2 separate regions of the Homo sapiens genome follow, and region 1 is linked to region 2. The links are contacts of gene promoters, found by promoter capture Hi-C in blood cells and fetal thymus (Javierre and others, 2016). All regions are on one chromosome and are shown on one strand. The core of a region is centred on a gene start or on the middle of the fragment in contact, and the rest is flanking DNA. Distances in the headings are between cores, read along the strand shown.

Evidence for each region. Contacts are between HindIII fragments. The CHiCAGO score rates a contact against its expected background, and 5 or more counts as called.
Region 1: a contact is called between a fragment that was not itself captured here and the fragment with the promoter of TPMT in region 2, in 1 of 17 cell types (naive CD8 T cells). The highest score is 5.4, in naive CD8 T cells.

The regions. Positions count from the first base shown.
Region 1 is chr6:21,592,499-21,598,632 of GRCh38, reverse strand. SOX4 (SRY-box transcription factor 4) reads right to left here and starts at 4,882. Exons shown (of 1, transcript NM_003107.3): 1 at 14-4,882. The coding sequence starts at 4,098. The coding sequence ends at 2,674. RefSeq lists an enhancer at 2,122-2,321 and silencers at 3,132-3,181, 3,232-3,321, 4,092-4,271. The HindIII fragment of the contact is 3,762 bases long and covers 694-4,455 here.
Region 2 is chr6:18,151,252-18,157,308 of GRCh38, reverse strand. It overlaps TPMT (thiopurine S-methyltransferase), which reads left to right and starts at 2,232. Exons shown (of 9, transcript NM_000367.5): 1 at 2,232-2,276. It overlaps KDM1B (lysine demethylase 1B), which reads right to left and starts at 1,887. Exons shown (of 22, transcript NM_001364614.2): 1 at 1,738-1,887; 2 at 1,383-1,426. RefSeq lists an enhancer at 947-1,186 and a silencer at 1,627-2,186. The HindIII fragment of the contact is 1,618 bases long and covers 1,347-2,964 here.

The sequences.
Region 1 (6,134 bases), core at 1,325-3,824, 3.4 Mb before region 2:
ACAAAAGTCAAGATTTAGGGTTCAGTTCCAGCTGATTTTATTTCCTTCTCAAAAAAAGTTATTTACAGAAGGTATATATCAACAATCTGACAGGCAGTGAACTTGACATGATTAGCTGGCATGATTTTTTCTTTTTTTTCCCCCAAACATTGTTTTTGTGGCCTTGAATTTTAAGACAAATATTCTACACGGCATATTGCACAGGATGGATGGCAAAAAAAAGTTTAAAAACAAAAACCCTTAACGGAACTGCCTTAAAAAGGCAGACGTCCTAGTGCCTGTCATGTTATATTAAACATACATACACACAATCTTTTTGCTTATTATAATACAGACTTAAATGTACAAAGATGTTTTCCACTTTTTTCAATTTTTAAACACAACAGCTATAAACCTGAACACATATGCTATCATCATGCCATAAGACTAAAACAATTATATTTAGCGACAAGTAGAAAGGATTAAATAGTCAAATACAAGAATGAAAAACGCAGTACATAGTGTCGCGAACTCAAATCGGCATTTAGATAGATCCAGTGGTTTAAACGGCACGTTTTTGCTTATAAAAAAAGTGCAAAAAAGATGTGGTTTACAAGTTAAAGCTACAGAATCCCTTTTTGCTGTAATTGCACCAGTTTTAAAGCCTCTGGACAGAGCAGTATTTCGTTTAAAACTTTGTTTTTCTTAAAAGCTTACAGTGTTTGGCTAATTCTCCTCCCCTTTTTACAAGACGGGGGCCGGAGGGTGGACACTGGTGGCAGGTTAAGGGATACTGTCACTTTAAGAAGCCTGCAGATTGAAGTGTAAACATGGAGAAATTAGGGGCTGATTTTTTAAACTGTGTGAGATATTAACCAGCCGCCCTGTTATAAAATCAGGAAATCCAAACAGCGATTTACACCGATTAACACCCCCTTTATATATTTTTTACAAAAATACACTGAGAAAATAATCAAACGTTTTCATCTCTCTTGTCTTTTTTTGTTTTTTAAAAGTGTCAAAAGTCTACATTTAAATATAAAAAATTAAAAGTTAAAACTCTAGCCCTTCAGTGAAGGAGACGTAAAATGGCGTGGGTAACAACAACTACCAAAAAAAAAAAAAAAAAAAGAAAAAAAAAAGAAAAAAAGGAAAAGGAAGGAATAAAGAAATAAAGGAAGTAAAAAGAAAGGAAAGAAAAAAAGGGACAAAAGAAAAAATATGTTTGGCCAGTATAAATACGTCCACATATAAAATGGCATCTGATTACATTTACAAGGAAAAAGAAATACGAGGATGGAGCATCGGTGAAGGAAAAAAACACGTCTTCTCATTTACACCTATAAGGAATAAACACACACACTGAGAAAAAATTTGGTCCTGAATTGTTTTTTTAAAGTCCAGCACAGATTTGAGTTGCGTTTGAATCCTTTAAAGAGTTAAGAATGAAAAAAAGCTGGTGATAATTTCGTTGTAGGAATCAAACATAGCGCCATCTATCTGCTTTTTATATTATCCTACACTATTTTAAAAACTGCTCAACAGTCTTATACAGAAATCTTTAAAAGATAGACAGGATAACATGCTATATTAACCCCACCATTGAAATAATCCAACACCATCACGATTCCGATTAAGAGAAGAAAAAAATCTTTTTTTTTTCTTTTTTTTTCTTTTTTTCTTTTTTTTTTTCCGAAACCACTCGCCCTCCACTGACTGCCCCTGTACCACATCAAACAGTCTCCTCTCCTCCACGCCTCCGGGGTCTGGGAAGTCTCACCTCACTGATTTCACGTAGAAAAGAAGGCGGAGGCCCAGCAGCCGCCGCCGCCAGCTCCCCAACGTGCAAATCCATTTCAGTTTGACCGTGAACCCCCTTCCAGTTCGTGTCCTCCTCCGCCCCCGCCCCTAGCTCCCGCTGCTGCGCTTCCAACGGGGTTCTCGGGTCATTTCCTAGCGCCGGTCACACTGGCTGGCCTCCTCCCCTCAACATCTCCTCCTCCGGCTGCAGAGGGGGCAAGGGGAAAAGAGGGAGGAAAAAAAAGCCCCAAACGGGAATTCGCCTGCGTGGAGTCTCTCAGTCCCGGCGTTCCCCCAAAACATCTGCCATCGGCCAAATTCGTCACCCCGGAGCCTTCTGTCTTCATCACGCGTTTAAAAAAAGGGGGGGAGGGGTGCGCTGGGTTCTCCCCTCCTTTCTTGACCAAGAAGCAAAATAAAACAAAACCAAGGTGGTGATGCAGGAAGGGGGAGACTCCTTCAAGTCTCTAGAAAACTAACTCGCCTTCTTGCTGGGGGTGCAGACAAGTCCGGAAGCTCGTTGGAAGGGGGAGGGGGTCTCTTCAAGCAAAGGGGAGCAAACTCGAAGTCGCTTTTTTTTTTTTGCCATCAACAACAACATCAATAACAACAATCACAGGTCGCCCCTGTCTACCCTCTTCCTCCTCCGCGTCCCTCCGGCTGGGCAGAGTGGGTCCCCGGCCCGGGAAGGTGGGGGATGGGAGCGCGGGTCCAAAACGCCGCCGCGCTCCTTGATCCGACGACGAGAACGCGGGCGAAGCCAGCCCTGCTTACTTTTTCTTTCTTTTTTCCCTTTTCTCTTTAAACTCTTCGTCTGTCCTTTTCGTTTCTTTTTTTCACTTTTTTTTTCTCCTCTCCTACCCCCCCCGGCCCTTCTCCCTGCCTGCGCGCCCTTCAGTAGGTGAAAACCAGGTTGGAGATGCTGGACTCGAGCCAGTCTCCCGAGATCATCTCGCTCACCTCGGGCGTGCAGTAGTCCGGGAACTCGAAGTGCGAGCCGGAGCCGGGCTCGAAGTTAAAATCCAGGTCCCGGTCGAGCGCCGACGACGAACTGAAGCTGCCCAGGGACATGCTCTCAAAGTTTGAGCTGGGGTTCAGGTCGAGCAGGTCGTCTTCGAACTCGTCGTCGGAGGACGAGGAGCCCGAGGAGGAGGAAGAGGAGGAGTGGGACGAGGCCGAGGAGGACGCGTGCGAGGGCGCGCTGGACGGGGCGGGCGAGGCGGCGCGCAGGCTGGCGTAGCCGCGGTGGTCGGCGGGCGAGCGGCCGGCGGCGGGGGACGAGGCGGCGCTGCTGCGGCCGCTCAGGCTGGGCGCGTCGGGCGAGCAGCCCGCGCCCTCCTCCTCGTACAGGCCCAGGGGGTCGCTGGGGTCGGCTCCCGCGCCCACGCCGCCCACGGGCGACGACGACGTGCCCAGGCCGCCGAACAGGTAGACGCGCTTCACCTTCTTCTCCGCCAGGTGCTTGCCCGGGGCCGCGAGCGCTGCGGAGGCCGAGGCTGCCGAGGAGGCGGAGGCCGAGGCGCTGGGAGTCCGCGCCTTGTACAGCGAGTGGTGGTCGGCGGCGGCGCCCAGGGGCAGCAGGGCGGCGGCCCCCGCCTGTTCGGCGGCGAAGGAGGCGGCGGCGGCAGCCGCTGCTTTCCCGCCGCCGCCGCCGCCTGCCAGGATGAGCTTGGCGTGCGGTTTGCTAACCCCACCGCCCGCGCCGCCCGCCACTTTGGAGCCGCAGCTCTTTTTCTGCGCCGGTTTGGAGTTGGCGCCGCCGCCACTCGCACCGCCGCCTCCTCCCCCCGCGTTGCTGCTCCCGCCGCCGCCGCCGCCCCCATGGCCGCCCCCGCCACTGCCACCGACCTTGTCTCCCTTCTCCCCCGGCTTGGAGGAGGCGGCGGCCGAGGAGCTGGAGTTGGCGTTGCCGGACTTCACCTTCTTCCTGGGCCGGTACTTGTAGTCGGGGTAGTCAGCCATGTGCTTGAGGCGCAGCCGCTCCGCCTCTCGAATGAAAGGGATCTTGTCGCTGTCTTTGAGCAGCTTCCAGCGTTTGCCCAGCCGCTTGGAGATCTCGGCGTTGTGCATGTCGGGCGACTGCTCCATGATCTTGCGCCGCTCGATCTGCGACCACACCATGAAGGCGTTCATGGGTCGCTTGATGTGCCCACTCGGGGTCTTGCACCAGCTCGGGTCGTCGGCCTTGCCGCCCGTGGAGGCGGTGGAGCCGGGCGTGGGGGAGGAGGCGATTCCCAGCTCGAGGCCGGCGCCCGAGTCCGAGCTCTCGCCGGCCAGCAGCGCTTCCGTGTTCTCGGCATTGTTGGTTTGCTGCACCATGGCCTCGGCTCGGCGGGCGCCCACGCGCGCTCACACCCTCGCGGCGGCCGCCGCGCGATCGCCGGGCCCTCCCGGTTCCCCGGGCCAAGCACACGCCGAACGGGAAGACGCGCGCGGCGGCCGAACTGGCCCCTCAACTCCTCGCAGGGGCGGAGGTGGGTAAAGAGAGAAAAGTCCCCAAAAGATTTGGGGAAGGAGTTCTCCGCCTCTCGCAGAGGAGTTATAGTTCCCAGGCTGGAGAGTCTCTCTCTCCCTCTCTCTCGCTCTCTCACCGCGCTGCAGTTTGCTGTCTCTCGGCTGAGTCTGGAGACCGTGCTAAAGTAGAGAGGAGTTTCTCGAATGCTGGTTGCTGAAGCTTCCAATGCAAGTTTCTCGCGGCCTCCCAGGCAAGTCTTTTTTTTTTTTTTTTCTTTTTCCCTGAAGCAGTTGATTCCAGTTCACGAGCGCTCTCGGTAGCTCAGGAAAGCGACATAGTCTCTAGCACTTAGTCCCTCTCCTACAATGCAAAGCAAAAAAGACTGTGGCTCCAGGACTCTCTGTGGGCGGAATCGGCACTAAGGAGTTGGTGCAATTATTTTGTTGCAAGGTAGGAAGCCAAAAAGCCTGCATGCAACAGACTGGCATGAATAAATGTATGTTTCCCCCTCCCTTCTGCAAGAAGGGAGCTGGTAATGGCAGGAGTTCCTCCAGTGCAGACTCTTAAAGAGCGTGCAAGAACTAGAGACCCGACAGCGAAACAGGCCTCTTCCCCTCACACACAGTTTCTCTTGCTGCAGCTTAGAGCAGACCCCAATTCCGCCTCGCGCCTCTTTATCCTTTCACAGTCTTGGCTGCAGCCAATCAGCTGCTGTAACCAACGCTTCCTCATGCCAAACCCCTCCCCCGGGCTTCCCATTGGCTTGGAACCCGATGCAATAATAATCTCCGCGTGCAATGAGAAGCTCCAAATCTGACCTCATTCCAATTTACAGAGCAAACTTTTTAAAAGGGCTAGAAGTACAGCTGAGATTTCTGCTGCCTCTTTTTTCCTTTTGCTGTGTGTGTGCGCGCGCGTGTGTGTGCGCGCGTGCGTGTGTGTATAGTGTGTGAAGAGGATGTTAATGCATGAAATTATTAAGGGGAGAGACGGAAATGTATTCTAACCATTATGTTAGATAACAAGGGGCTTGGAACGGGGCGGGGTAAGGGTGAAATACTGTAAATGGAAGCTTTCTGCTTAAAAGCCAAGTGATTATTTTTATTAGTTCTTTTCAGCATTGGAATAAAGAATCAGCCTCTGGTGCAAAATCTGTTCCCCAGCTCTTTCTTAAAGCCAAAGCTGTAAAGGGGAAGAGAAAGCCACAAAACAATAAATCAATGGATATTGAAAACCATTAAGAAAGTGGTACCTAGACACCTGTCATCACAATTATTTTAACAACTCTAGGTACAGCACAGATGTTGATGTATTGTGTAAATCCCTTCAGAACCGTTTTTGTGCTGTTTGTGGAAGGCAGGGAAGAGGACTTTGCAATAATTGCTTACTCTCTTAACCAAGCAAGGGTCAACTATGGTTATTTAATGATTTAAACTCCCTGTAAATCCTGCATAGCCCAAACAGGGGAGCTTTCCCTTGAAACACATTAGGTAGTGCTCCGTAATTACCTCAATAGGCAGATTTCCAGAGTTTTGTATAGGATGTATAATGGCATGTAAAGGATGGAAATCGGTTTTACTTTCTAAATATTTGTTTTCCCTGTTTTCAAAATTAAAGATTGCTTCACTCTCTTCCCTCTCCTCCTCCCAAAGCCATCTTCCTCCTTTCCTTCTTATATATTTCCTCTTGTTACTTGAATCGAAGGGAACTGAAAAACCAAGGCAAAGAGAAACTGTAGAAGGAGGTGATAACTGGTAGCAGAAGAGAATGGGGCCTCCGGATTCATAGTAGACCTGGCTGCTAATCCTTCTTAATGGTTTGTAACTATGGGGATGTGGCCAAGTCTCAGTTTTCCTCATCTATTATATGGGAACACTAGGAGCTACTTTATAGAGGGTTG
Region 2 (6,057 bases), core at 983-3,482:
AGCATATTTTCAACTTTATACAATTGAGGGTTATATGAATCCATTCTCAGAACTTTTGGCACTTGATGTAATTTATATATCTCCACTTGCTGGGTCCTTAGGTCTTAAAATGAAGAAAAAATTTTTAGTATACTAAAATGTCTTCCTTCTTGATTTTTCAAATTAATAAACACACCTAAATATAACCAATTGGTTTCATGCTCAACATTATACATATATTTCTAATTTTTAATTCAAGCATTTAAAATTTGGCTTTGGTTTTCTTTTAATGTGATAAAAAAGTGGGATTTTTTGGTAAATATATAAGTGGATATATCAATATGTAGATTTCATTATAATAATCCCTAGGTTTTTCTGAAGCAGCTTATTCAAAAAGATTTTTTCTTTTTTTTGAGACGGAGTCTTCCTCCGTGGCTCAGGCTGGAGTACAGTGGTGCGATCTCGGCTCACTACAACATCCACCTCCTGGGTTCAAGCGATTCTTCTGCCTCAGCCTCCCGAGTAGCTGGGATTACAGGTGTGTGCCACCACGTCCGGCTAATTTTTGTATTTTTAGTAGAGACCAGGTTTCACCACCTTGGCCAGGCTGGTCTTGAAGTACTCCTGACCTCAAGTGATCGCCCACCTCGGCCTCCCAATATTGAATAATTCAATATTGAATTATTCAATATTCAACATGCAGTTCAATGATTCAATATTAAATCCCCAATTGCCTAGATATCTTTTGTTGATTCTCCCAGCAAGGCAAATAATTATTGATGGTAATTTTCTCATGTACCTCCTGAAGAAGCCTTCTCTCCCACTCGCCTTTCTGCCACTAAAATAGATTTAAAAACACAAAACAAAACTGGTCAAAGCCTTGAGTTATGTGTGTATACGTGGTGTGGGGGATTCCCCAACTGGAGTGGACTGGGGAGTCCTGCAGGCTTACCCAAGGGAAGACTGGACTTCTATGTGGCTGGTTTCCACATCACTGAACCCCAACTTTCTACAGCTGGGTCGGCCTCTTCCTTCCTCTTTCACCTGTCAGCTGCCCGGCCGTTGACTAACAGCTACCCTAATCGGGCCACCCCTCCTCCAGGTCTCCAATCCCAGAGGAGTTACCCCAGCAACCTGGCAATGCTCATCAAGTCTCAACGCGTGGTGGCTGTGCCAGAGAATTACTACAACACCTGCAAGGCTGTGCGGGCTCCTGGCCGCACCCTATCGGCCGGGAAGAACAAGCGAGGGAGTTCCTACTCCAGGACCGTGGGGTTCTCCCGCGGCTCTGACAGTCCCCAGGAGGGAGCCCCAAACTCCCGGTGCCAGCTGCAGCCGCCTCGCTTTCCGAGAAGCTTTCGGAAGCTTTTCGAAGTCGGAGAAGCAACTGCCCCGGGGCTCACCTTTGCGCTGAAGAGGTGCCGGGAGTCTCGGGGAAAAGGCACCGCTGTACAGAAAGGAAACATTGTAGGGGGGTTAGCCGACCGGCAACATCGCGACGAACCCGGCGACCCCACGCCCCAACACCCTAGCCCGGGAATTCCCCCTTCTTCAGACAGATACCCACCCCGCACCCTCTTTTAATCCGGGGCAGGAGGTATCCGTCCCTGGGGCACCCGCCCACCTCCCACCACGGCGAGGGGCGCTGCACAGGGGGAAAGGGAGGGCTTGCACCCCAACCAAGCTGCTTTGTGCAACGCTGTCACCCGAAATCCGCCACGGCCCCCACGCACGCCCCCGGAGTGGGGAGCCTCCCACCTCTGAGCGCCAGCGAGGCGGTGCGCGCCGCCCTGGACTGCGGGCGCCTCTCCGGAGCCGCGCGCCGCGCGCACAGGACGGCTGCAGCCGCGCCGCGAGCCCCAGCCTCTTCTCGGCCGCCGCCGCCGCCGCCGCTTCCGCCCCTGTCACGGCGTGACCCGGGGTGGGAGGAGCCGACAGGACTAGGGATGGGTAGGGTCCCCGCCTTCGCTTTAGCCGCAGCGCTCGCTCCGCCCTGCCCATTTCCGCCGCTGCGCAAACCCCGGCGCTTGGGGAAGTGGGTGGAGTCTGTGCAACGAGGTACGGGGCGGGAGTGGAGACGGGGCGCCGGGAGAGGGGGCGGGAACTGAGGCGGGGCGCGGGAAAGAGGCGGGGCGCGGGAAAGAGGCGGGGCGCGGGCGGAGGCGGGGCGCGGGCGGAGGCGGGGCGCGGGCGGAGGCGGGGCGCGGAGAAGTGGCGGAGGTGGAAGCGGAGGCGTACCCGCCCCTGGGGACGTCATTGGTGGCGGAGGCAATGGCCGGCAACCAGCTGTAAGCGAGGTAGGCTCACTCGGGCGCGGAGGGTGCGGGTGAGAAAGGGAACGATTTGCTAGGAGTGTATGCGCCCGTGCTAGGGCTCCCAGGAATTCTTACAAGCGTAGACAGCCTAGCAATCAGCCCTGTGAAGTGGGGTTCAGGGCAGAAGCGGAAACTGGGAATAACGAGGTCGGACAGTAAATGACCTGAATCCAATGTCCAGGATTTAAAGTGCTTCCAAAGCACTGGTGTGTTTTAATTATTTTTTTTTCTTTTTTCTTTTAGAGACAGGGTCTCCCTCTGTCGCCCATGCTAGCGTGCAGTGGCACAATCATAGCTCACTGTAACCTGGAACTCCTGGGCTCAAGTGATCTTCCCGCCCCAGCCTCCTCGGTAACTGGGACTACAGGCTCGCTGCACCACGCTTGGCTAATTTTTCAAATTTTTTTTTATAGAAACGGACTCTCGGTTTTTTCCCCAGCCTGGTGTATTAGTGATTTTTGGGAAAAAATAAGTACTGCCAAATAGTGAGTGATCCCTGGTGATGTGGGAAACTGGGGTGCTGTAAATATTCTGTCTTGCTCTGCGGTGGTTACACAGGTGTATGTATATGTAAAAAATTCACCGAGTCATACTCTTTTAAGATGTGTGCACCTTAGGAAAGTTTCTTCTCAATTTTATGAAATTTAAAAACAAAACTATAGCAGAAGCTTTTGAAAAGGTGAGAATGGAGACTAGAACAACTTGAGGACTTTGTTTGTGGGCAGAAATTTTTGTGAAATTTCCCTTCCTTAATTCTTGTAATGTGCACTTTTTTTGTATTATAGAAATAAACTTTATTTCTCTAGAAATGATGTATACAAGTGGAGTCCATGCTGAGAAACTGTTAGAACAGCTAAGACGTTGAGCCCAGGAGTTTGAGACCAGCCTGGGTAACATAGCAAGACCCTGTCTCTACAAAATATTTAAAAATTAGCCAGGCATGGTGGTGCACCCTTATAGTCCCAGGTACTCAGGAGGTTGAAGTGAGAGGATCGCTTGAGCCCCAGTGTTGGAGACGGAAGTGTCATTACACCACTGCACTCCAGCCTGGGGGATAGAGAGAGACCCTGTCTCAAAAACAAACAACTAAGACATGATTAAGTTATGTGCATGATTTTGTTAGACAGTTCAAGTTTGTGTGAAAGGAATAGAGTTGTGCTACTCCAGGCTGCTGTGGAACTCTGATAAAGATTATGCTTCTCTTTTAAGTAGAGAACTGCTTTATGAAGCCTTGAATTTAGGTTCCAGAGTTTCTGAATGAAAATGAGAAAACTGCAACATTCTTTTGCTTTTCTGTACCCAATATAAATCAGATACTTTCTACTGACCTCTCAGAAAACTCAGAGTCACCTCCTGATACCATCAGGGTCTTGCAGAAGCCATTTGTCAACAAATATTTGCTAAGAAGTGAATTCATGTTCCCAGGTAATGAGAGAAATGCCTCCTCCCTATATCCTAAGCATACTGAGGCCAAATTTGGCAACAAAAGGGGAAATTTGCCTGAAATACATGCTTTTATGCAATGTTTGCTATTTCACAGATTAATCATTAAATTAGAACCACCAATAATAGCATGCTAGTATAATCCAAACTAGTTTCACTAATGATTTAAAGGGAATGTTAGAATAATGGTGTTATATTGTCCTTAATATTGCAGAGTTGACATTGAAAGGAAAGGCATTTTCCTCATACATTCAGATGGATCTGCAGTTATGGTCTGTCAGCTGAAGAATGAGAAGTTCATAATTTAGAAAGGAGAACTCTTTCTCATGAATGGTTTCAGACTGTAGAGCAGCCATTCTGACTGGCTGAGAAGTGTAGCCGCAGGCCAGAAGCCAGAAACTGACACTTCCAGGGAGGGGCAAAGGGAACAGGAATTTATGCTGAGGAAGGTGGCCAAATATACATATTCAGTAAGCTGTAGGATGACTCATGAATATTTATGAAAGGAGGAAAGTACCCATGAGTAATTGAGCTTCATGGGTACCATGCACAAAAAATGGCGGTGTTACCACAATCACAGGATGGAGTTTTTGGCCCTCTTATATCAAAAGGTGAAGCAGAGGACAGAAAAACCCTTACTGTGCATTCTCAGTAGACTGGCCAGAACCATTCTGTGGTCTGTGATCTCTTATCAGGCACAAAAGGAGGGGCAGCATCAGGGGGTTGGTTGATATCAGTGGTAGAATCTTTTGAAAGGGCTGGTTTCCCTTAAGTCCTTATAGAACAAAGCCTAATTGTGGTTAGCAAGAGAGGAGGTATAGAGTTGTATCTGACGCTCTATCTACTCTTGGCCCAGAACTCAGTTTTCAAGGTTACTCTGGGGTCCCGTTAGCCAAGAAAGTGTGTAGTGAGCCAAGATCGCACCACTGCACTCCAGCCTGGGCAACAAGAGCGAAACTCCATCTCAAAAAAAAAAAAAAGAAAGAAAGAAAAGGAAAGAAAGTGTGCCTTCAGTCAGTTGAGAGGCTTTGAATTTTATTGTTAGTTTACATTGTACATGTCTTTTTTCAGTTTCCTTAGTGTGCATTTCCCATGCAAAAAAAGAAGCTGTAGAAAATTATTTGAAAATACAAATGTGTGGAGTAGAGATAGGATATTGAACTATGGTTCAGTATCTACTTTAATCTGTTTTTGCTGTCTCCTGAAAATAACAGAATTTTTTTTTAAGGCATAAAGTACTAGGATAGCCAGGACAGGAGAGACAAAATTAGTAAAATTTTGGAAAGGCAAATGGACAAGTGGGAAAGGATTTTGCAACTTCAAGGAAGCTGAATTCTAAACCAGCAATGAGAAAAGCCATTGAGCAGCCCAGTTTGCAATACAGAATCCCCAAATGCTCAGGATTAGCAGCACCAGGTACCTCCATAAAGTGTGAGAGTATGGTTGAAACAAGGAGGATTGCTTGAAATGCTGGTTCAGAACAGGCCAAATCCCCAGATCCTTTTCTCAACTTCTTGCAACCAAGTGTGTACATCTCACCACACCAGCAGGCTTTGGGGATTTATTCTCTGGAAAGGGTAAAACAAAGAGTGTCTGTCTAGACTGAGAAGATATGATACACAGTTGAGCATGGGAGTATACAGGAAACGTGAGGATTAATTGAATACAGCAAACTGGATGCTGGGACCCTCGCCCACTTCTCTTCTTTTCTTATATGAGTATATGACAGTGGCTCCAACGACAGAATCCTTAAGACAGGAATTGGGAGATCCATCTATGGAAAGTCTGACTACCACAAGGAAATTAAAGACATTAGCCAGGCATGAGGGTGTGCAGCTGCAGTCCCAGATACTTTAAAGGCTGAGGCGGGAGGATCACTTGAGCCCAGAAGTTTGAGGCTGTATTGTGCCACTGCACTACAGCCTGGGTGACAGAGCGAGACCCTGCCTCAAATAAATAAATAAATAAATAAATAAATAAATAAATAAATAAATAAATCTAGGTTTCCAAATGAAATCCACTCACATCACCCTACATTATAAGCCCCACCCACATTCTTTGCCTTCATTCATTTTATACCTATTCTTTTTTTTGTTTTTTTCTTAAGACAAGGTCTTGATCTGTAGCCCAGGCTGGAGTGCAGTGGCACCATCATAGCTCACTGCAGCCTCGAACTCCTAGGCTCAAGCCATCCTCCTGCCTCAGCCTCCTGAGTAGCTAAGATTACAGGCATGCACCACCATGCCTGGCCAATTTTAAAACTGCTTTTGTAGAGATGGAGTCTCACTATGTTGCCCAAGCTAGTCTCAAACTCCAGGCG